Regions from separate parts of the Homo sapiens genome. Here all the other regions are linked to region 2. The links are contacts of gene promoters, found by promoter capture Hi-C in blood cells and fetal thymus (Javierre and others, 2016). All regions are on one chromosome and are shown on one strand. Each heading gives the region's core, a stretch centred on a gene start or on the middle of the fragment in contact. The rest is flanking DNA. Distances are from core to core; before and after follow the strand shown. Region 1 overlaps NEK2 (NIMA related kinase 2). Region 2 holds the start of RCOR3 (REST corepressor 3). Region 3 has its middle 25 kb from the start of RD3. Region 4 holds the start of SLC30A1 (solute carrier family 30 member 1).

Region 1 (6,110 bases), core at 1,702-4,201, 410 kb before region 2:
CAGCCTGGGTGACAGAGTAAGACCCTGTCTCAAAAAATATAAATAAATAAATAAATAAATTCCCTATTTGTACACTGGATAATTTATATCATCCCATCTTGGCAATGATTTTTTTAGAAGTTATATGCTGTATAACTGCTTTGGTTTTAGGCAATACTTAGATGAAGAGTTTGTTCTTCGAGTGATGACTCAGTTGACTCTGGCCCTGAAGGAATGCCACAGACGAAGTGATGGTGGTCATACCGTATTGCATCGGGATCTGAAACCAGCCAATGTTTTCCTGGATGGCAAGCAAAACGTCAAGCTTGGAGACTTTGGGCTAGCTAGAATATTAAACCATGACACGAGTTTTGCAAAAACATTTGTTGGCACACCTTATTACATGTCTCCTGTAAGTATTTCAGAATTTAGCTACTTTTTAAAACATCTTTTATTTTTGTTTTCTTGTTTGTTTGTTTTTGAGACAGAGTCTCGCTCTGTTGCCCAGGCTGGAGTGCAGTGGTGCGATCTGGGCTCACTGCAATCTCTGCCTCCCAGGTTCAAAGGATTCTCCTGCATCAGCCTCCTAAGTAGAGTAGCTGGGACTACAGGTGCATGTCACTATGCCTGGCTAATTTTTGTATGTTTAGTAGAGACAGGGTTTCATCATGTTGACCAGGCTGGTCTCGAACTCCTGACCTCAAGCGATCTGCTCACCTCAGTCTCCCAAAGTGTTGGGATTACAGGCGTGAGCCACCATGCCCAGCCAAAACATCTTTTAATGTTAAGCATTCTGAAGCAGGGAAATTGAGTTTTCTGTTTGTTTAGTAATATCTAGTAGCCAAGAATTGAAAATACTGTTATATTTTTCCACATGGACCACCAGACCAATAAAGTCTATATCAGTTTTTGTTTGCTGCATGAGTTATGTGCATTAATGTAAGTATGATGAAGACAGATTCCTAGTCTAAGGTTTGCGCCGTTTGTCATCTCTCACTGGGTTCAATTTTTTGAGCATTCATGCAAATTAAAGCATATTCAGTTCAAGCTTTTATGGAATGACTATGATGCATTAAACTCAAGGATTACAAAAATGAAATGGATTTTGTCCTTGCCCTCAAGAGTTGTTTCCCAATGTGTAGGTCCTAGTTATCTGCATCAGACTCACTTGGAGTGTTTGTTTAAAATGCAGAGTTCTGGGTCCCAAACCCAAACCCAAATCCATCGAGTGAATTTCGATCTCTGGGTGGGTTCTTGAACTCTGTTTTTTTTTTTTTTTAATATTTTACTTTTTATTTTAGACTTTGCATTTAAGAGGCTCTGTAAATGATTCTTGTGTATGCAGAATCAGAGCTCAGGAAGTTTGCTCACTTCAGATAGCATGTTTTTACAATGTTAACTTTTTGTACATTTTATTTTTTTGTTGCCTATCCCTGAAATATCTTGCTGAGTCCACTCACCAATTACCTCTATTGCTGGATATTTTGTTTCCAACATGTTTCACCATTCTTAGAAGTACTGCTCTGCATATCTTTGTATGAATTATTCTTTCTTCCTTTTTGGTTATTTCCTTGGAGTGTAGCTCATAAAATGAAATTGCTGGGGTAAATGTTTATGGCTGTTATTAGATATTGTCTGATGGCTTTTAAAAAGTTTAAGTCAATTGTGATAGCACTAATGTGTTAGTATATAACATCTGAACAGATAAAGATGAAGAAATATTTGTTAGTATTTTAGTAGTTCACCTTTCTAGGATTTTCCAAATATTTATAAATTATGTTAACAGATCTTACTATAGTATAAAACTTTGTAAATTAATGATTTTGGTTTTGACTAAAAATAGCCAGAACAGTACCATTTTCTCACTGTATCAAATTCCAAATAGAATGTTTTTAACATAAAGGACAATTATCCAGAAGTGGTTCTTGGGAAATTTGAAACCTATTCTTTTGTTCCTTTTCCCTCCTGCCCTTGTAATTAGAGTGGTTCAGCTTTCCTAAGGCACTGATTGTCAAAAAGTGGCATCAGACTCACCAGTTGGACTTTAAAACACTAACCAGCCACTAGAGATTGCTTCTATTCCCTCTGTTGAGAATAGGAGCTCTGGTAGGCTGTTGTTACTGTAGATGTGGAAGAAAGGCAAACAATAAAATAGGTAAGGATAATATTAGTTACTACTGTGATTTATGGAGTGGACTAAGACAAAATATAAATGGATAATTCAATTAGCTATTTATGTCTATATCCATTTAAATGTGGACTAGATACATATTTTGACTATTCTTAAATTTCCTCTAGTTCTTTTAAAATGGTGTTTCTTAATTTGCCTTGAGAGTAGAAGTCTCTCATATTCACCTCTGTATTGTCAGTGCCTAGTCTATACTAAGCACTTTCATTTGTGAATGGAAAATGAGTGAATGAATTATGTATGATGGAGTGTATTGGAACAAGATCATTGCCTTTTTTCCATTATAAATTTCAAGATAAAGTATAAGCTAAAAACTTTGAGGTTCTGTTTTTATCTCAGGAGTAATTTAATGTGTTTTTTAAGTTTCAAAACAAAATAAACTCTTAACACCTTCCACTTTCTTACCCTTTTTCCCTGTATAGGAACAAATGAATCGCATGTCCTACAATGAGAAATCAGATATCTGGTCATTGGGCTGCTTGCTGTATGAGTTATGTGCATTAATGTAAGTATGATGAAGACAGATTCCTAGTCTAAGGTTTGTACTGTTTGTCACATTTCACTGGGTTCAGTTTTTTGAGCCTCTGTGCTAACGAAAGTATATTCAAGTCTGAAAGAATTGTACCCTGGGTAAAATTAAGGTAGATAGATGAACAGGCTAAAAGAAACTATTCACAAATTAAAACTATAAGCCATGAGGCTGGGTCTTGACTGTTCAAGGGTCTTGGCTGGTTAGGTGCTTTCTTATTAGATTGACACTTAGCTCAAGGGAGAGCACATAGGTCAGGCAGGTAAGGTAAAGCTACTGTAAGGATGTGGAAGAAATGAAACAAGACTCGGGTAGAGGTCTGGGGATCTGTAGAGCAGGGAAGAGCTCCAATTCTTTTCCTTTGTTCTTCTTTTCATTTTCTTTCCCTTTGAAACTATTCTGTAGAGCAGTGATTCTCAACTAGGGATAAGGGAAGCAAATTTGCCTCTTATGGGGCATTTGATGATGTTTGGATAAATTTTTAGTTATCACAGCTGGGGAGTGCTTCTGGCATCTAGAGGGTAGAGGGCAGGGAGGCTACAAAATACCTATAATGCACAGGACAGCCCCCCACAACAAAGAATTATATGACCTCAAATGTCAATAGTGCCAAGGTTGGGAAACTTACTTATAAGAAGAAAATCCCAGAAGTAGAAACTTAAATACAAACTGGAGCTTAAGCTGTGCTTTTGATTTAGTTCCTATTGTATATTTTCATTTTTACAATTTGAAAATGTCTTCGTCGTCTTCTTCTTCTTTTTTAACCCTAGGCCTCCATTTACAGCTTTTAGCCAGAAAGAACTCGCTGGGAAAATCAGAGAAGGCAAATTCAGGCGAATTCCATACCGTTACTCTGATGAATTGAATGAAATTATTACGAGGATGTTAAACTTAAAGGTAAAGATGATAAGATGATATATTGTCTGTTTCTAGCTGTCAGTTAAGTGTCAGAGCATACATTCTCTCTTGTAGATCAATGGAGACTGAAGAAACGTTAAATATACTTTCTTAGCTAAATTTACTGTGTTAACACAAGTGAAAACATATGTAAATTTGGCAAATTGCACATCCTTGCTGGCCCACCTTCTGCGCTTTCTTTATTTCTCCTCCCACTCTGTCATGCTAACAGATGGTCGGTAGCAAGGAAAGATTGCAAAAAGAATTCAAATTCTCGTTCCCCTTGTCCTTGCCTACCTCACAGTGGCAGGTAGTGAGGGAAGGGGCCAGAAATAAGAGTTTATTACTCTGCCTCTAGCTCTAATTGAGAGATTAAAGACCAGAAGAAGGGGAGGGGTGATGGAGGGCGGACGGAGGACAGCTAAAAACAGAGGGAAAATCAATAAAGAGATTATGTGGAAAAACTCTGGCTATAGAATGGGGAAGGAGATGTTCTGGGGACCAGGCTGACATAAGAGAAGAAGGAAAATGCCGTAGGATCACAGAGAAGGATACAGATGAAGTGACAGGATTGAGAGTCAGTGAGAGAGTATCTTGCTAAATGTAGTTTAGAAATGCAAGGGCAGTACTTCCCCTAAAACAGACCCTAGCAATGCTACCAAGCCCCAGCACAAGATGTGCCAATCTTCAGGGATTGAACCTTCTTAGAAAGGTGAAAAGGGGAAAAGGGAAAAAAGGTAAGTTAACATCTGCATTACCTTGTGGACCCAGAACCTCATGAGTTAAAACCACCAGTGAACTTATTTTTCCAAGTTTTTAAGACCTAGCCATAAAGGAGTCCTTTCTTTTGTCTTGGAAACACATTTTTGTCCTTTTATTTTAACTGCTGTCTTAGGAGGACTATTCTGTTATGCAATCTGACTATAATACTGAGTATTTTTTCCCCAGGATTACCATCGACCTTCTGTTGAAGAAATTCTTGAGAACCCTTTAATAGCAGATTTGGTTGCAGACGAGCAAAGAAGAAATCTTGAGAGAAGAGGGCGACAATTAGGAGAGCCAGAAAAATCGCAGGATTCCAGCCCTGTATTGAGTGAGCTGAAACTGAAGGAAATTCAGTTACAGGAGCGAGAGCGAGCTCTCAAAGCAAGAGAAGAAAGATTGGAGCGTAAGTCTGAATGGGGGTCAAAGCAAAGGAGAACTACCAAGTGGGTTATTTTGATGTGTCTGAATATCTCTTTGAGCAGAATATTTTATACATACAGATCTTATTAGAAGCTTTTGAAAAATACTTGAGAAACCAAAATATGTATTTTAGACTTTTTAATAATCAGGCTTGCTGGCACCTTCATGTTGGACATCTTTCTCTGAGATCAGTTGCTAGTTATATATTATTGGGCCTTAACTGTGATGGCCCTAATACGATAGCCTTGTATTTTACTCTAGAGTTACTTTTTTCTTTTTCGTCTCTACTGTGAATACCCTAATGTTTTCCCACTGTAAAGGAAGGTCTTAAAATTGCTGCTTTCCATAATAAAAAACCATGACTTTTGTCTTTTGAAATGGCCACTCCAACAGAATTCCAGGTCTAAAACCCTACAGTATGTAGATGAGATATGTTCAGGCAATTCTTTTCTTTTTTTTTAACTTTTTATTTTTGAAAATGAGATGGGGTCTCACTATATTACCCAGGCTGGTCTTGAACTCCTGAGCTCAAGTGATCCTCCCATCTTACCTCCCAAAGTGCTGGGATTATAGGTGTGACCTACCACACCTGGTCTGTTCAGGCAGTTCAATAGAGAATCTAGATACAAGATATTTTAAGTCTATAAATAATACTCTGGTGGGTATTAACATTGACTTATGAGTATTAACTGATTAGATGCTAATTTAGTTTTGATATTGAAAGTGTGTCTACTCCACCAAGATGAGAGCTACTCGCAAGCATTTAGGGTTATGCAAGGTAGCTACAGAGTGAGGTTCTTCATTTTAACATCAGGAGACGAGAGATGGGGTCGTATTTGTGACCTGTCACCCTCATGACTCACCTGATTTTACTTCTGCAGCTTTATGCCCAATCCAGGCTTTAAATAATGAAATATTGTATAGTCCTGTGAGATATGCTTACTGTATAGGTACAACCTATACTTACTTGGAAACCTCTGTAAAAAATAAGAAAGCTTTTTCTTATAACTTTCCCCAGTGTTTCATAATTTCTTTTCTTTTTTTTTTTTGAGATGGAATTTCACTCTTGTTGCCCAGGCTGAAGTGCAGTGGCACCATCTTGGTTCATTGCAACCTCTACCTCCCGGGTTCAAGCAATTCTCCTGCCTCAGCCTCCTGAGTAGCTGGGATTACAGGCGCCTGCCACCATGCCTGGCTAATTTTTGATTTTTTAGTAGAGATGGGGTTTTGCCATGTTGACCTGGCTGGTCTTGAACTCCTGACATCAGGTGATCCACCTGCCTCGGCCTCCCAAAGTGTTGGGATTACAGGCGTGAGCCACTGTGACCAGCC
Region 2 (6,040 bases), core at 3,501-6,000:
TGTGGTGGCTCAACCGTGTAATCCCAACACTTTGGGAGGCCAAGGCACGCGGATGACCTGAGACCAGGAGTTCAAGACTAGCCCGGCCAACATGGTGAAACCTTTTCTCTACAAAAATACAAAAAACAAAATTAGCCGGGTATGGTGGCATGTGCCTGTAGTCCCAGCTACTTGGGAGGCTGAGGCAGAATTGCTTGAACCCAGGAGGTGGAGGTTGCAGTGAGCCAAGATCGCACCACTGCACTCCAGCCTGGGGGACAGAGCAAGACTCTGCCTAAAAAAAACAAAAAAAAAACAAAACAAAAAAAACTTTTCATCTATTATTTTTCCCAAGGTAATGTTTATATTCTCACCTAATTATACTGATGTGAAAAACTTCACACAACAGCACAACACTTATAAATAAGAATAAAATAGATCAGCAGTATAATGTTGAATGACAGAGGCCCAGTATTTCCCTGTAAAAAATGCCCAATAACTAATAATCTACATTTGATTGATAAGATTAGCTTTTACCAGATAAGAAAAGCCCTCCTAAGTTTAAATGGTAGCTAGTTTTAATTGTGTCCTTAGGTTTAGCATGCTTCTGTAGAAGACTATTAAGCAGAAAATGAGTAAGTGAACTTACAGAAAGTGATGTTTATCCTTATTCTAATAATAAAATTCAATTAGTCTGAGTAAATAAATTGAAAATATGACTTCAATGACTTTAAAAAAAGTAACATTTCAGTGATTTTTTTCCTCCTCAAATATTCTATTTAGGTTTCAAAATAGGCAAAATATTATCGTCAATTAAGTTGGTTAACAATAGCTAAGACTTGGAACCAACCCAAATGTCCAACAATGATAGACTGGATTAAGAAAATGTGGCACATATACACCATGGAATACTATGCAGCCATAAAAAATGATGAGTTCATGTCCTTTGTAGGGACGTGGATGAAATTGGAAATCATCATTCTCAGTAAACTATCGCAAGGACAAAAAACCAAACACCGCATGTTCTCACTCATAGATGGGAACTGAACAATGAGAACACACGGACACAGGAAGGGGAACATCACACTCTGGGGACTGTTGTGGGGTGGGGGCAGGGGGGAGGGATAACATTAGGAGATATACCTAATGCTAAATGACGAGTTAATGGGTGCAGCACACCAGCATGGCACATGTATACATATGTAACTAACCTGCACATTGTGCACATATACCCTAAAACTTAAAGTATAATAATAAAAAAAAAAAGTTGTTTAAAAAATAAAGATAAAAATAGCTTCTTCAAAAAAAAAAAAACCAGTGGCCATGCAAAATCACATTAATATTATTCTGTTTAAGTGATTATTCTCAAAATTTTGAAATTTGTTCCAGTGTTTATCCTGAAACAAAAAAGATGCTTTCCAATGATCAGATCAATGCTTTCCAATGTAATGCTATGGCATGTACAAGTTTGTTCCAGCATTAAGTCTGGCTCTTAAACACAAGACCCCTAATCGAACTGTATATAGTTGTCTATGAAATAAATATTGACTCAGAAATCTACCCACTGGGGCAAAAATATAGGTATGTTTATTAACTTAAAAAATAATTGTAGCTGCTGAGGTATAATTTGGAAATAACTATCACTACCAAAAAAAACCACACAGACTCCCAATGAAAGCTCCAAATCAGAAAGGTGTGAATATATCCAGAATAATTCTTCATAATTACAAATTTTAATGTTTATAGAATAATTGCCATATGCCCATCATTTAATCCTGGCAAGAATTCCATTAGTTTTTATAGGCTGGGCGCGATGGCTCATACCTGTAATCCCAACACTTTGGGAGGTCGAGGCAGCAGATCACGAGGTCAGGAGTTCGAGAGCAGCCTGGCCAACACAGTGAAACCCCATCTCTACTAAAAATACAAAAATTAGCCAGGCATGGTGGCGTGTGCCTGTAGTCCCAGCTACTCAGGAGGCTGAGGCAGGACAATCGCTTGAACCCGGGAGGCAGAGGTTGCAGTGAGCCGAGATTACGCCACTGCACTCCAGCCTGGGCGACAGAGTAAGACTTCACCTCAAAAAAAAAAAAAAAAAAAAAAGTTTTTATAGCTAGGAATACTGAGGCTCAGGGAAAGCCTGTGGCTTGCTCAGACCACAAAAAGAAGAGTTGGGAGTTAGGAATTGAATTCAGTTTTTTTTTTTTTTTTTTGAGATGGAGTCTCACTCTGTTGCCCAGGCTGGAGTGCAATGGCGTGATCTCGGCTCACTGCAACCTCCGCCTCCCGGGTTCAAGCAATGATTCTCCTGCCTCAGCCTCCCGAGTAGCTGGGTTTACAGGTGCGTGCCACCACGATCGGCTAATTTTTTGTATTTTTAGTAGAGACGGGGTTTCACCGTGTTAGCCAGGATGGTCTTGATCTCCCGACCTCGTGATCCACCCGCCTCAGCCTCCCAAAGTGCTGGGATTACAGGCGTGAGCCACCGCGCCTGGCGTGAATTCAGTCTCTTAAAGCCAAAATGTGCTCTTTCCAAATGTCAAGTAAACCCAAAGGGAGCAGAGTGGTGTGAAAGTGCCATTCACCTACTAGCAACATCAATAAAGAAAATTAGTTTCATAAAACATTTAAAATTATTTGAAGCCCATCAGTATACACACTGATAGTCTTTGAATAAAATGTATTCCCAGCCAGTCATTTAGAAGGCAACCCAAATCTAGTGAACACTCTTGCATCACTGTTTTCACCTATTAAAAATGAGACTGTCCCGACTCATTACTTTTCATCCTCCTCACTTGGGACAGGAGGAAGAGCTGCTATCTGAAATCCAAATGGTTGGTAAATATCATTTTGCATTGTCTTAATGGGGAGAGGAGGAACAAAAAAACACGCCTCTGTATCCTAATAATTAAACATTGTTTCTCTCCAAGAAAATACAAGTAAGCTCTTTAATATCTAACATAGAAATCCAATGTCTGACACAAACGCAATATTATGGGCACTGGGCAAAAATTGACAAACTGTAAGGAGGAAAAAAAAAGGTGGGTCCCTTTCAAAGTCTGTCCAAAGCCTTAACTGAGAAGGGTCTCAGGCAGGGTGGGGAGAAGGAAACGCGCTCCACTCCGAGAGGCTCCAGCAAGGGCGCCTCCATATGCGGAACTCTCGCCCAATCCCTGCACAGGCTGAAATCTCGTGACCGCCGGGGAGCCTGTTTGGAGAAAAGTAGACAGGGAGCCCGCAAGCTGGGTTGGCAGAGGACGCTGGAACCTGGCTGGTCGGGGAGAAAATGTCTCCTTGGCAGCTGCAGCCACTGTCCTGTGGTCTAACTTCCCAGAGCTGGCTGGCGAGCGAGGTGTGCCTGCCGCTGGCGTCTCCCCACCCCCTTCCCCCACCCCTTTCTCTCCGCGGCTCCTGCACTCCGCAGAGCTGCCGCGACCAAAGCTACACCACCTAGCCAAAAAGAAAGAAAAGAGACAATCCCGGCTGCGCACAGGTCGGCAGGGCTCGCCCTTGGCTTCCCCGGCCGGTGACAGCCGCCCTGGCCTCTGCCACCCGCCCGACAGAGCGCGGCCCTCGGCGCCGGGGCGAGCGAGGTGGCAATTGACATTTGCACGGTTCGTCCATACAGTCCGCACGCCTGCTCCTCCAGCCCGCGGCCTCGGACCCTGGACTCCGCCAAGGGCCGTCTCCCTCTGCTCACCCCGACCCTGCCCCAGGCTCAAGGGCTAGGAAGGCGATGCCCCCAGCGGGCAAGTGGCCTCCGAAGGGAACCATGTTAACCTTGCAGTGCACACATCTGCCCACACGCCCAGTGTCACAGCCCGGCCAAGCCTGACAGCCTCCCCGCCACGGATGCCTGCCCAGCCCAACCCCGCATCCCCTCCCGGCCCCATGCCCGGACTCCTAGCCCGTCCACCCCAAACCAAGCCCAGGAAAGGGGATATGAGATTTTGCTTAAGCAAATATATCTACCTGGATCAAATTCAGGGATCCGAGCTTGGTATTCGGCTCCGACTCTCATCCCAACATCTGCAAAGCAATGCCAAAAAATATATATAAAAAATAAAAAAGAAGAAAAGAAAGAAAAAGGAAGAGACACTTAAAAAATAAAAATCGCTAGATGGAGGAAAGAAGCGGCGGGTGGATGGGAAGATATCAACTCGGGGCACTCCGGGAGATGGCAGCGGATTGGGGGCGGGGAGCGGGGGGGGGCAAAGGCGGAGGATTGGTCGAGGGCGGAGGGACGGGGGGTCGCGGGGGTGCTGCTGCACTGCACCGGGAGTTCGAGGCTACCGCAGCGCCCAGGCTCTGAGGGGAGGGAGGGCGGGAGAGCGGCGAGGGGAGGGGGCTGGGGGAGGGGAAGAGGGAGGGGGGCAGGCGGGCTGGCGGGGAGGAGTTCGAGGCTACCACCGTGCTCGTCGTCGCTGCTGCAGCCGCTCTCGGGCTCTGAGTAGTGCAGCCCGCCGTTGGTGGACGAGGCGCCGCTGCCGCCGCCGCCTGCCGGGCTCTTGGCGCTGCCGTTGGCCGATCGGTTCTTCCCCAGTAACTCGGGCCCTTTCTCCATCATGCCGGGCATGGTAGAACAGGGGAGGGGGAAAGGTGAGGGGAAGAGGCAGGCGTCAGGGTGAAGGCGGAGATGGCTTAGAGCGCGGGCGGGAGGGAAAGGAGGAGGAGGAGGAGACGGCGGCGGCGGCGGAGGAGGAGGAGGCTGTTAATATGGAGCCGCCATAACCGCCCCGCTCCGGCAGTAGCGCAGTCGCCTCACAACAACCCGCCCCGGCCCCGCCTCTCTCCCCTCCTCCCTCCGCCGCCGCCCGCCCCGCGCAGTCCCGGGCGCCCCTCGGCCGCACCGCGCTCTACGCCGCCGCCGGTATCACTCCGCTCCGCAGGGAGGTTCCGGCCGCCTGGGGGGAGGGGAAGGGGGGAGGGGCGGGGAAACCCCGCTCGCAGGCAGCCGGGCCACCCCAACCAAGCGCTAATAAAATCGCCACCGAGGCGTGGCCGCCGCTCGGGCTTTCTTCCTAGGGGGCGCTCCGGAGCGCGGGCGGGAGATGCACACGAGGGAGCGGGACTCTTTGCCCTCTCTGGGCGGAAGGAACGCGGTCACCCTGAGAAAGGACCGGCGCGACCCGACTGGGCGACCGGGGGGAGCGGCCCCCCCCCTCTGCGGACCGGGCTGCAGGCACGGGCCTGAGCGCGGCGTTCCTCAGATGTCTGGACCCGCAGGCCGCTCAGTTTCCCGGTGTCCGCTGGCAGCCTCGAGCTAGGGGCGCGCTCTGGCCCGCGGTGCAGTCGCGCAGTATAGCAGGGCGGCCTTGGGGCTCTGAGGCCCAACCGGCGAAAGAAGTAGACTCGGCCCTAACCATCTCGACGCTACAATTTTTGTTTCTGGATCTCTGAAGTAGGGCCCAGTTCCCGAGAGAGAGTCTGGGGATGACGGGATGAGTTTCCGGGGCTGAGCGATGCAACTGTTTTTTGCTGAAGCCCCTCTCCCCGATCCTAACCCTACTGTCTTATTCTTACCATCTTTCTTTCCTTTTTTTTCTTCTCTGTTTTAATAGCTGGGGAGTGAGTGCTGTGGAGTGAGGGGGAAATAAGATAAACATGAGACCTGGCCCAGTAGACGCGTTTTCAGTTCTTGCTGACCTGCGGTCTCCGCTTGGAGCGCTGGGGGAGAGGGCGGAGTCCCCCGGCAGAGGTGAAGCGAGAGCTGCTTTCTGGCAGCGTTTCCAGCCTGGAAGGAGTTGTGCTCTGTAATGCTTTTCTGAATTGCATTCGGCGAAAGGAGTAGGAAACTGCGTTTATTCCTTCACCAGATTTGAGGGCATCTGCTGCGTGCCAGGCTGCCTGGCATTGGGGGCTGTTTATGATTTTCTTTTCCTCTTTTTCTGATTTCTTCCCCCCCACTGACGAATAAGTAGAAATAAGTGAGGATTTAACTGTGAGCCTCTAGTATGCAGATGTATGCTGAGCGGTATTGGGGTTCAGCAGATACTCTCCAAACACTTGAAAATACTGTCTTGTAATAATTCTATTATGGGTCAATCCAGAGTGGATCAAA
Region 3 (6,358 bases), core at 1,900-4,399, 260 kb before region 2:
ACACCCAGCCAATTCCCCTTGTTCTTAGGACCATGACAAAACTTAGCAATGTGACTTCAAAGGCCCTGCATCACCTGGCTCCTTTCTCTCTCTGCCACCCACTCTCACGGTGGGGGACACTGGCTCCCCCTCTCTCCACTCCAGCCATACTCTCTCCAACTACAGTGCCTTTCCCTGAAATGCTCACATCGCTCTCTTGGCCTGGTTAGCACCTTTCATCCTTTAGATTCCAGCCCACACCTCACTTCCTCAGGAAAGCCCTCCTGAGTGGACCAAACCTGCCTATGCTATGCCCTTTCAGCATCTGTGCCAGCCAGTGGTTTACACGTGTTTGGCAAGTGTTTGATGAATGACTTTGCCTCACTATGCTGTAAGCTCCAAGGAGCAGAGACAATGTCTGGTTTTGTTCATCATACCCTAAGCGCATAGTTCAGTGCCCTGCATGTTGAGAGGCACTTAAATATTTACTTATTGAACAAGTGAGTGAATGAATGCTCTGTTTTTTAAGACTTTCTCTAACAGCGACACTATGGAGAATAATTGGCACTTTTCATCCACAGATGGCCTCCTGTGCCTCTTTTAGGAAACAAGATGACAGGCTGGGTGGCGAGATGCATGTGAACACGGTAGGGCCATGAGACTTGCCTCCTAAAAGTTTCCTCTATGTTTTTGCAAAGAAGATCCCCATGTGTTGGTAAGTGGGGAGAAAAACAAATTGAAGTAATCTCTACCAGATGACCCTCTGTAGTTTGTTAAAGGTGTATGCACACATGAACCCACTGAAAAAGAGTAACAGTGGAGGGTGGCATACAGGTTACCTTCCTTCCTTTTTTCTTTCTTTCTTTTCTTTTTTAAATAAGTTTTCCATTCTGGATATGTATTTTTTGACAAAGAAATAAAAAGTATAAGAATTTTTCTCAATGTGTATATGTATATATACACATATGTATGTGTATATATATATATATATATCACAATCTCTCTCTCTCTCACACACACACACAGTTAAAAAAATGGAAGATCATGTGTTCAGACACCCGAGGATGAAAACCATATTTCCCCTCAGCCTGGGACCTTTCTGAAAGTAGAAATCATTTCACTTCCTCTCTTTATTTCTCTGAGCACCCTCCTCTCCTCATTTTGGTCACCATTATTAGTTTCAAGTGACAGAAAACCCAATTCAAAGTAACTTAGGAAATGTAGGCAGTCATAGCTTGGCCATTCCAGCCACGGTGGCTCCAGGAGCCTAAGCGATGTCCTCAGGAATTGGTCTTTCTCTGTTCCTTGGCGTGGCTCTCCCCTGGTGATGCAAGATGCCCATCAGCAGTCCCAGGCTCATGTAATCCACCAGTAGAGAGAGTTTCTCCTCCCACTAGTTCCAGCTACAGCCCTGGTGCTGATGATCTCTGTGACCAGTGTCAGAGGCTGGGGTAAAATATCTTGTGGCCAGGCCTGGCCCAGGGGCTTCCTTCTGGCAATGGGCCCTGTGGGAATCTTACTGACTACAAGTGGAAGGTTAAGAATTGGAAAGCTTTTGCCAGAATAAGGGGAAGGGATAATAGGCAGGCAAAACAAAAGGTGAGTATCATACACTGAGCACTTGGCTCTGCACACAGTAGGTGCTCACCCTAACAGGGCTGACTGGCTGGCCTCTGGCTGGAACCATCTGGGGAGAGAGGAAGTGGTGGTTTCACATCAGCTGCAGAGCCTCCACCAGGTTCAATTTTACATCTAGAGAGAGGGATTTGGAGTCCACGCAGGTCCCAGAAGGTGACAAGGTGGTAGAGAGTGATACGTGCCTCGTTGCATGGAAAACTGCCCTTGGGCTCCAAACATGGTATGCCCAGAGGCTGAGCTTGGAAATGGGTGAACCTTGGCCCAGCCTGGCTAAGAGAGCCACTCGGGGGCACATGCGTACCCTTGCCCTGCTCTCTGCGGGCTGGCCTATGGCCAGCAGGTGCCCAGTGAGAAGATTGTACTCCAAGGGATCCAGCCTTTTACACAAGTTATAAGATGAGGAAGAAACATGGCTTGTGTCTTTGGGAAGTTCTCAGCCCAGTGGGAGAACTGTAACATGACAAGACTAACCCTGTATTTGGGGGCTTCCGCCTGATGTGTCAGCCCCAGAGGGACGGCATGGTAACCCACTCTGTACCAGATTTTAAGCTTTATTCCCAAACCTGCTTTGCTTCCCTTACCAGCTCTTTTACCTTTGTCTTCCATGTTCCCAGTTCATGTTGACCACCTGGGCTGGTTCACTACCACCACACCTGGGAGTGAGAGAAGCCCACCTTCTCCCACTGGCTCAGCCACTCAATTGCCTGGAAGGCATTGTCAGGCAAGGGTGGCCTGCATCTCTACCTCAGCAAAAGCCTCCAGGAAGCCAAAATTAAAAGCGAGGCCAGACCAGGCAACAGTGGCTCACGCCTGTAATCCCAACACTTTGGGAGGCCGAGGCCGGAGGATTACTTGAGCTCAGGAGTTTGAGACCAGCCTAGGCAACATAGTGATCTGGAGTCCATCCAGGTCCCAGAAGGTGATGAGGTGGTGGAGAGTGATACTTGGAACCCATCTCAGTAAAAATCGTAATAATTTTTAAAAGAGAGAAAGAAGAGTGAGGCTGGTTCCTGCTGTACCCTGGAAGTGGTTTTTTCCAGGCGCCTCTTTTTCCAAATTATCAGTTTGAGGCTGAGAGGGCAGGTAAGGGAGAAAGTGACAGTGAGCTAGGCATGGGGAAGTGGCAGCAGGTTGAAGCAGGATCCTGAGAAGACAGCACGGAGGGGCCCTGAGCTGGCTGGGCAGGTGTGGGGCTAGGAAGCCACACCCAGCTCAGTAATTCCCAGGGAGCTTCTGGGAGAACCTGGGCTCAACAGGGAGATCACAGGGCCTGCTGAGGCCATATGGGTGAGGCCTCGCCCTTCTTCCTGCTTCCTCCACCATGCAGTTCCTGCCTCTCCTCCCCCTTCACCTTGCATCCCTCCTCCTCTGCAGCAGCCCTCCTGCTCACACAGTTTAAGAAAGGCTGGTGCTAAGCCTGTGTGCACCACAGGTGGCGTCATGGGCAGGGTCTTTCATGATTTTTCTGCTGCCACTGAGAAGACGGATCATCATCTTTCAGGCAAGTTTGTAATAAACATTTAACGAATGAATGGGTTAGTGATGAACATTCGTTATCTAATTTGAACCCTTTACCAACCCTTTGAGGTAGTCCACACAGTTCCTATTAGTGCTGTTTACAGCTGGGGAAACTGAGACTCAGAGAAATTATGTGTCATCACGTAGGTATGCAGTGACCAGCTGGACTCAGAACCCATGACCCTAGTTCTTGCACTAATGTCCACTGCCTGTCTCTTTCACCCACCTGCACCCTCACAGCTACTCCTTGGGGTTCAGAGGGGGATGACTGGGGCGGGAATAGCAAGGACACAGGCATCATGGGGGCAGATTTGACCACACTGGCTCTGGGCTGTCAAGACAGCCAATCTGGGCTGCTGTCTCTGGCTGCTGTTATGGCTTCATTCCCGGGGCCACTCCACTTAATACAGGGACAGTACTTCAGGTCCGTCTGCCCAGTGCAGTCACATCAGGAGCACCACGGCAGCCGAAGTGAAACCTGGCCAGTCATAGGCAATAACCTTTGACCTGCTGGCAGGTGGGTGTTAGGTTAAATGTTAAGTGACCGGCCGGTCACGGTGGCTCATGCCTGTAATCCCAGCATTTTGGGAGGCTGAGGAGGGCGGATCACCTGAGGTCGGGAGTTCAAGACCAGCCTGACCAACATGGAGAAACCCCATCTATACAAAAAATACGAAATTAGCCAGGCGTGGTGGTGCATGCCTGTAATCCCAGCCACTGGGGAGGCTGAGGCAGGAGAATCGCTGGAACCCGGGAGGCGGAGGCTGCGGTGAGCCGAGATAGCGCCGTTGCACTCCAGCCTGGGCAACAAGAGCGAAACTCCGTCTTTAAAAAAAATTGTTAAGTGACCTCAACTATGTGGCCATGGGGAATTAGAGAGAGTAGAATAGAATCCCCTGTGGGTTGCAAGTGGGAGATGCTGGGATTTTTGAGCATCTTTACTGGTGATCCCTACGGCTGAATTAGGAGAGCTCTCCTGGCACCCGGGAAAGCTTTAACCTCTGGAGTGGCCTTCACAGGAGACAGCCTCAGGATGCTGGGAGAGCCCCTGACCCTCCACAACCTACTACCAATTCCTGCGCGCCGTTCCTTGGGCATGAGGTCCTGAACCTGGTGGAGGAAGGGTAGCAATGCCTTCCATTGTATTGGTTACATGCTTCTTACAGTCAATTAATTGGTTCGATCTTTTCCAGACAGTGCCGGGCTAGAGGCTGACCTTCCCCACTCCCGACCTTGGCTTCTTGAATAACCTCACAGGCCACGGGGCATGCGGGGTGCGCGTGCGTGGCTGGGCCGGCGTAGTCAGCCGGGCGGGAAGGTTTACGGCTTTGGGGAGGCGCCGCCTTGCCGCCCTGACACCGCCCCGCCAGGCCAGCCCGCCGCTCGGTGGCCCCGCCGGCTTCCCGCGGTCGGGACGGGCGCCCCCTGCTGATTGTGGGCGGCGGCGCACCGAGGAGCGGCCCCTGGGAAGCCCAAGACCTCGCCGCGGCTCGAACCCCGCGACCCTCGGCCCGGAGGGAGGTCCTGGCTGCGGGGAGCTGCCCAGACCGCGGTGACTCAGCTAGGTGGCACCGGGAGAGCTGAAGCGGGCGCCCCGCTGGGCCTGGCCACAGGACGGTTAATGATTAATGTTCCATACCGGGTGGAGACGTCGAAGGGGAGGGAGGCCCAGGGGCGCGTCTTGGCCCTGGCTGTGCCTGCAGGAAGCAGAGGCCCAGACGGGGAGAGACTCAGGCCTGGGCTGAGGCGGCTGGGGGCAGGGGAAGGAGCAAGCCGTGAACTCTCTCCTCTTCCCACCCCGCACGCCGCCCCCGTTCTCGATGCCCTTCTCCCCTGCCCCGGGAGCCTCCAGGCGCCGCGCTCCTCCTCCCTGCCTTACCAAATGCCCATCCGTGCCCGCCTCGGTGCCAGGCACTGCAGGCCGCTTTCATATAAATGACTGATTGCCTCTTGCCCATTTTACAGATAAACGCAGAAAGCTCAGGTGATGTGCCCATGGGCTCTCAGCTCACAGGCAGAGTGGGGATTCGAACCCAGCCCCGGACACAGACCAGGTGTCCTTCTACTACCCCACCCATTGCTGCCCAACTCCAGAGACACCTACACCCCAATCTACCAACTTAACCACCTGGGCAGAGGAAATAAGAGGCGGTACTGCCCCCGCCTACAGGGATCGCAGCTCCATTCTCTGCCCTCATAACTCATTACCCTAATTTTAGTCAATCAGAAAATCGTGTCAGGGCTGGACGTCAAGCTACCAGGGATAATGGTTCCTGTTGTAAAATGCTCCTTTGAGCTGAAAGCAATCGTGAAGTGAGGCGCCCGGTTCAAGGAGTCAGCCTCCCGACTTGAGAAGCCAACTGTGGTGGTGCCACGAGGCTGCGATTCACAGGCTCCGGTGGAAAGACCAGGGAAGAAACTTATTTACAAAAATGAGAATAAAAAATATTCTGGGCCGGGTGCGATGAGCCATGCTTATAATTCCAGCGCTCTGGGAGGCCAAGGCGAGAGGATCACTTGAGCCCAGGAGTTGGAGGCTACAGCGAGCAGAGCACCACTGTACTCCAGCCTGGACAACAGAGATATTGTCTCTAACAAAAAGGGAGGTGGGGGGAGGAAATAGTATTCTAACACGAAGCTGCAGGTTCTGCACAACAAGTTTAGGTTTTCCTGTTCTCTCTAGGGTAAATGAGGCATGCAGGCGCCTGCACCCTCCGGGCAAGGACAAGGCGTGTGAGAGTCTCTGGGTCTGCCCCAGCGACGCCGTCGGGCCTCTGGGCGGTGCAGCCTGGTCCGGCATCATCCTGGACGCGCGGGTAATCAGGGCTGAGGGAGCCCAAGGTACATTCTGTCCCTCACCACAAGATGTCGCCGCTGCTAATGGTTAGAGGGCTCTCAGCAAGACCAACTCCCAACCCCAGACTCTGAGTCAGAAACTCTGGGGTTGGGGCCCAGCAATTCGTGTTTTTCACAGGCCCTCCAGGGGATTCTGAAACATGCTCAAATTTGAGAACCACTGGTAAAAGTCATCCTGCAGGTCTCACTGCCTCTGACGTCTACCCCTTCTGCTAGGTGGTCAGGGCAACTCAATCTGTTACCCACCTGGAGTCCCACCCCAGTGCCCAACTGGGGCAGGACCTGGGATCTCAGAGCTTCAGTTTTCTCAATTGCAAAATGGGGATAGTAGTACCCACCAGACAGGGCTGTCACGAGGCTAAAATGA
Region 4 (5,942 bases), core at 1,196-3,695, 320 kb before region 2:
CCTGCCTGTGTTGACACTCTACTAGGACAACCAGATGAAAAGGGAAAAAGCTCGAGTTGAGGTACCAAAGTCTTTTGCCTACACAATGTTAGAGGGAAACAAAGTCTGACTGAAGTGTTCTGCTGTGTGGTAAATATTACTCTCTCCAGAGAACATGATTATAACTTCTCTAGAACCTGGAAAATGTACTCCCTGCCCCCTCTGCCCCGCCCCCAACCACCCACCAGGAGGGAATAAAGCACATTGTCTGGGAAATGGCTGAAATGCAGGCACAAAGTAGGTTTTCAGAAGCGGCTATGAGTTGAACCTGTTTTTATATGGGTCTAAAAATCTCCCAATTTAGTCTGTTTAGTTATTGAAGGATTGCTATTGTGTTTGCAAGCATCACTGACTTTTACATCTTCTTATTGGTTCTTCTTTGGGTATCAAATCTTCGCATTTGGAGGAATGTATTTTTTAAATAAAGCGAGGCACAGCAGCCCTTAGTAGAAAGCAAAATGGTCTTCAAACTGCCTCTAGGCCATTTCCATGAGGATATCTTGACCCATAAGTGGCTTCCGAATTTCTGTATATGAGGGGCTAGTTGATAGGATGTTTGAAGCTGTGTTTACAGATGATCAGAAAACTGTCACTCATCCATATCAAAGGAGAGGAAGTTATGGAAGTCCTAAACCCATTAATCCACCCTTTAGCACTGCCCAAACCCAGACTTCACTTCAAATTAAGCACATTAAAAATGGAGTTCATATTTTCTCCTAAAAATCAGCTTCTTGGCCTCCCTTCCCAACTTCCTCACCTGTTTAAGGCAGTATTTTCCTTGTCAGGTTAGAAACATTATAACTATCTTTGTTCTCCTACCTAGCTTCCTCCTTCCCAATACCCAATTAATCATCAAATTCTATCATTTTTTCCTTAATAATGTCTTGAAAATTTTCCTCCATTCTTTATATTCCAGCAAAACAGAAACAGAAGGTGAGGATCCAGCTCTCCAGTCTGGATGGGGAGACTAGAAACACACTACATACAAGTGAAAAAAATTTCATAGGAATTACAAGAATACCAAAACAATGCAAAATAACAGCTCCAAACAAGCCTTGTATACACATCTCCAGGCAATAGCTGGCACTGCATTTGTCCAGTAGTAATCTAGGGCAGTGGGTGGGGAGGTCCTTCTGCTGCGCAGGGGCTGTGGTGAGGCCTTTCAGGTCCAGCTTAAGCCACTCTGATTCCAGCCACCACCCCACCTTAGATGGGCAAGCTGTTCCTTTCCAGATCAACTCATCTCCACCCACAACACAGTGCTTATGTATTCAGTCTAAAATAGCACAATTTATCAAGAGTATTCCATCGTAATTTTAAAATGTCGTGTTTATATTTTACCTCCACCTGGACAGAAACTCGTTCCTTTGTATTCTTACTGCCCCTCCACCTCCCCATAGCAACCAGCACAAGATTCCACCGTGTGTAGTCTATAAATAAATGTTAAATCATAGAGCCTTAGAATTTTGGAGTCAGACGGGGATCTTCAGAGTTGCATTTGTCCAGTCCTTTATAGATGGGGAAACAGGTCTAGAGAGATTAGGTGACTTGCTCAAAGCCACACAGCTGGCTATTGACAAGGCAAGGAGCAGAGCCCAGGTTTCTCCTGCCTGAAGTCTGTACCCTGAACTGTCCTTAGATAATCAGTGACAGACACCTGAGTTCACACAAGGTCTCCAGGGGTTGATGGTGATAGGAGAAACTGGCTTTCCCAAAACATGTACAAAGATTCGGTCCACGCCCCTAGCAGACCTTCGGGAGGACTAACTCCTCAGCTCGGCGTCCAGCAGAGTCCCAAGTTACAGTCGCACTTGTTTATGCGTCTGTCGGCCTCCTCCGACAGGACCGAGTACTCGAGGGCCCCGCGCTCAGGGGCTCCCCTCCGGCCCCTCCCCCGCCGCCGAGCTGTCACACAGCCGCCGCGCGGCCCGCCCCCACGTGGACTGGGCTCGGAGGATCAAAGTCTGTTTGCAGACTTTGCAGCCCGGCCCCCGCAGGTGTGCTGGGAGTTGCGATGGTCCGCAGGCCAGGACTCCGCCACACCCGAGGGGACCCGGCCAGCCCCTCCCCCTCCCGCTGCACGCGGCCCGCGCCCCCAATTCGCCCGCCGCTGCACCCGGCCACGGCCCCCCGGCCCACGCCCGGCTCCGGGAGGAAAAGGCCCCGCCCCTATCTGTTGGAGCCGCGACCCCGCCCCCTTCCCGCCCCTCCGAGGCTCCATCCAATAGTGAGCGTGGCTGGGCGGGACGCCGAGGCTGTCGTGAGGGGGTCCTGACCAATGGGGAAGCGTGCCGGGCCTGGTGGGCGGGGCGGCAAGGCCTTGTCACGCTCGGGTCCGTGTGAAAACGGGGGTTCCGAGTGCAAAGCAAAGTTTTTTTGTAAACCGTCTGCAAAGGCGGGGGGGCGAAGAAGGCGCCCGAGACCGGGCCGAGTGCAGCTGCCGTGGCCGCCGCCTCTCTAGCTCCTCAGCCATCCGCTCCTCAGTCCAGCCGCCGCAGAGGAGACCAGCAAGCAGAGCCCTCAGATGCTCGGAGCTTTCTCGGCGCGAAGCTGCCCGTCGCCCTCTCCTGCCGCCCTCGCCCGCCGCCCTCCTGCTCCTGCTCCGGCTGCGGCTCTTGGTACCCCGGCTCCGGGAGCCCAGCTCCCCGCCACCGCCGCCGCCTGGGTGTGGGGGCTGCTGAGGCTGAGCCGGGCCTCGGCGCCGGCTCTGAGGACGGACGCCTGAGGAGCTGCGCGGCGCGGCGCCGCCGGCTGGCGGAGAACGCCCACAGGCGCGGGGCTCGGCGGCTTGACCCGGGCTTGTCCCCGTGCGGCCGCGGGGGCCCCTCAGCGGTTTCCCGAACGGCCCGACTCGGGCGCTCCTCCGTGTCGCGGTCGCCGACCCTCCGCGTCCCGCCAACGCCGCCGCTGCACCAGTCTCCGGGCCGGGCTCGGCGGGCCCCGCAGCCGCAGCCATGGGGTGTTGGGGTCGGAACCGGGGCCGGCTGCTGTGCATGCTGGCGCTGACCTTCATGTTCATGGTGCTGGAGGTGGTGGTGAGCCGGGTGACCTCGTCGCTGGCGATGCTCTCCGACTCCTTCCACATGCTGTCGGACGTGCTGGCGCTGGTGGTGGCGCTGGTGGCCGAGCGCTTCGCCCGGCGGACCCACGCCACCCAGAAGAACACGTTCGGCTGGATCCGAGCCGAGGTAATGGGGGCTCTGGTGAACGCCATCTTCCTGACTGGCCTCTGTTTCGCCATCCTGCTGGAGGCCATCGAGCGCTTCATCGAGCCGCACGAGATGCAGCAGCCGCTGGTGGTCCTTGGGGTCGGCGTGGCCGGGCTGCTGGTCAACGTGCTGGGGCTCTGCCTCTTCCACCATCACAGCGGCTTCAGCCAGGACTCCGGCCACGGCCACTCGCACGGGGGTCACGGCCACGGCCACGGCCTCCCCAAGGGGCCTCGCGTTAAGAGCACCCGCCCCGGGAGCAGCGACATCAACGTGGCCCCGGGCGAGCAGGGTCCCGACCAGGAGGAGACCAACACCCTGGTGGCCAATACCAGCAACTCCAACGGGCTGAAATTGGACCCCGCAGGTGAGCCGGGAAAGTCGCTGCCGCAGGTGGTTGGGTTTGGGGTGCCCAGAGCCTCGCCTGGCCTTCGGCGGGGTGGCCCGCACGCCCCCTGCTGCCCGAGCGGGCCTGCGCCGCGCCGCCCCTGCCTGCTCCCTCCCCGTCCTGCACACGCCCCGCTGCTGCTCCAGGAAATCAGAACCCCCTCAGTCGGGTGCAAGGAGCCGGCGACGCGTCTGGCATATTTGTAGGTGGGGGCTGTGGGTCAGACCCTAAGAAAAAGGGTCAGGAGGTGATCATCATCCCGCTGCAGTCCACACCCGCACTTGGCTGTCTTTACAGGCTGCAGCAACTTTGCTGGAGACTTGTCTGGTTATGGTTATAACAGCGTCAGAAATGCTTCCCAATTCAATTCCTTGGCCCTCTTGGGAAACGGAGAGAATCCCCAATTCGTCCCCAGTAGTTGGGTGCTGGAAACCTTGCTCTGCCAAAGTAGTTCTTATGCCCATTGAACTCCGTTTCATAATATGCATTCAGAGCGTGTAAACCCTGGTTAAAGGTTTCTTTTATGAACAGCAGTGTATGCTTCAGCTAATTGATCCCTAATCCTGGAAATCATAGATTTAGGACCTGTCTGGGCATGTTTAACATTTTCCCAGGACTTTTCATAATCGTACTGAACTAAAAGTGATGGTAATTTATTCATCTTATATTTTTAGTGGATGCTTTTTATATTTAACATTAAGTGCTCTTGAAGGAAATTTGAAAATAAATGTTGAAAGAAAGGAGATGGAAATGACTCAACCAGTGTCCTACTACCCAAGCTCAATGGTGCTTAACAATTTGGTCTTATTTCCTTCACTTACGTTTATTTACCTTGTATCATTATAAATTATGCTACATAATTTTCCTTTTCGAGTGCAGAATATGAAGTTAGTGAAATTCAAGTTGTACATTGGAAAGGTTTAATAAGTAATTGGTTTTCCTCTCACTCCACTCGGCAAGGTGTTATTCCAAAGAAAATTAAGTTTCTCTGGTGTGTAATTTCAAAAGATCAATACTTTTTATCTTTTTGAATACTTTTGATCAATACTTTTTGAAAAGATCAATACTTTTGATTTAAAAGTTAGTAGGGCAGGTAGTCATTTAGTTTCAATTTTTCTAATAATCTCTGTGATTATTGATTTTTATTGTTGATTTGTCAGTTTTTAAACCCCCCTACCAAGAAACTTTTATATTCATAATAAAAGTTTAAAAGTTAAAATTGGTTTTATTCTCAAGCAATTGGCCTCAGTGACAAAGAGTGACTAGAGAGTGCCCGAGTGTCAAATCAGGTATTTTGTATTAGTAGACTTATTCCTAGCTGCATTTAATTTTGGTGTTAGCATTCAATTTTATGTTTTCCTTTGTATATACCATAAAGTATAGCAGAATGGTTGCAGGACTCCACCCCCATAGAAAATATACACTATTTTGGAGAGGAGGAGGCAGGAGAGTGGTTAGGAGGGTGAAGAAGCAGTATCACAATGACTTAATTTAGCCCTGGCTATTATGTCCTGGCTCATTCCCAGAATGTCAATTTATATTAAATTGCTCTGAGCACATTTTTTTAATTGTACTTTCTGAAAAAATTTTCACCTTCATCACCACTTAAAAAGAATTAGACAAGGATGTTTATATAAACACTTTAAATGTATTTGATATAAAATTTTTATTTCTTTGTAGACCCAGAAAACCCCAGAAGTGGTGATACAGTGGAAGTACAAGTGAATGGAAATCTTGTCAGAGAACCTGACCATATGGAACTGGAAGAAGATAGGGCTGGACAACTTAACATGCGTGGAGTTTTTCTGCATGTCCTTGGAGATGCCTTGGGTTCAGTGATTGTAGTAGTAAATGCCTTAGTCTTTTACTTTTCTTGGAAAGGTTGTTCTGAAGGGGATTTTTGTGTGAATCCATGTTTCCCTGACCCCTGCAAAGCATTTGTAGAAATAATTAATAGTACTCATGCATCAGTTTATGAGGCTGGTCCTTGCTGGGTGCTATATTTAGATCCAACTCTTTGTGTTGTAATGGTTTGTATACTTCTTTACACAACCTATCCATTACTTAAGGAATCTGCTCTTATTCTTCTACAAACTGTTCCTAAACAAATTGATATCAGAAATTTGATAAAAGAACTTCGAAATGTTGAAGGAGTTGAGGAAGTTCATGAATTACATGTTTGGCAACTTGCTGGAAGCAGAATCATTGCCACTGCTCACATAAAATGTGAAGATCCAACATCATACATGGAGGTGGCTAAAACCATTAAAGACGTTTTTCATAATCACGGAATTCACGCTACTACC

The links. The method cuts DNA at HindIII sites, captures the fragments that hold promoters and counts their contacts. A CHiCAGO score of 5 or more calls a contact.
Region 1: a contact is called between a fragment that was not itself captured here and the fragment with the promoter of RCOR3 in region 2, in 1 of 17 cell types (fetal thymus). The highest score is 6.5, in fetal thymus.
Region 3: a fragment that was not itself captured here is called in contact with the fragment with the promoter of RCOR3 in region 2 in 1 of 17 cell types (fetal thymus); the score reaches 5.2 in fetal thymus.
Region 4: a contact is called between the fragment with the promoter of SLC30A1 here and the fragment with the promoter of RCOR3 in region 2, in 2 of 17 cell types (fetal thymus and monocytes). The highest score is 6.4, in fetal thymus.

The regions. Positions count from the first base shown.
Region 1 is chr1:211,667,764-211,673,873 of GRCh38, reverse strand. NEK2 (NIMA related kinase 2) reads left to right here. Exons shown (of 8, transcript NM_002497.4): 3 at 151-391; 4 at 2,590-2,672; 5 at 3,467-3,593; 6 at 4,542-4,761. Among named protein-coding and RNA genes, the nearest start is that of NEK2, 4.8 kb to the left of the region's middle. The HindIII fragment of the contact is 3,844 bases long and covers 1,030-4,873 here.
Region 2 is chr1:211,258,076-211,264,115 of GRCh38, reverse strand. RCOR3 (REST corepressor 3) reads right to left here and starts at 4,750. Exons shown (of 12, transcript NM_001136223.3): 1 at 4,390-4,750; 2 at 3,952-4,008. The coding sequence starts at 4,555. LOC105372902 (a long non-coding RNA gene) reads left to right here and starts at 4,924. Exons shown (of 2, transcript XR_922552.3): 1 at 4,924-5,380; 2 at 5,541-6,040. RefSeq lists silencers at 4,172-4,471, 4,542-5,331 and enhancers at 4,034-4,533, 5,036-5,537, 5,812-5,931. The HindIII fragment of the contact is 7,419 bases long and covers 1-6,040 here.
Region 3 is chr1:211,513,801-211,520,158 of GRCh38, reverse strand. No RefSeq gene overlaps it. Among named protein-coding and RNA genes, the nearest start is that of RD3, 25 kb to the right of the region's middle. RefSeq lists an enhancer at 1,212-1,261 and silencers at 4,472-4,831, 5,844-5,933. The HindIII fragment of the contact is 1,961 bases long and covers 2,169-4,129 here.
Region 4 is chr1:211,575,664-211,581,605 of GRCh38, reverse strand. SLC30A1 (solute carrier family 30 member 1) reads left to right here and starts at 2,445. Exons shown (of 2, transcript NM_021194.3): 1 at 2,445-3,615; 2 at 5,317-5,942. The coding sequence starts at 2,994. RefSeq lists silencers at 1,856-2,415, 2,656-2,965, 3,466-3,815 and enhancers at 2,272-2,771, 2,772-3,273, 3,246-3,355. The HindIII fragment of the contact is 24,351 bases long and covers 1-5,942 here.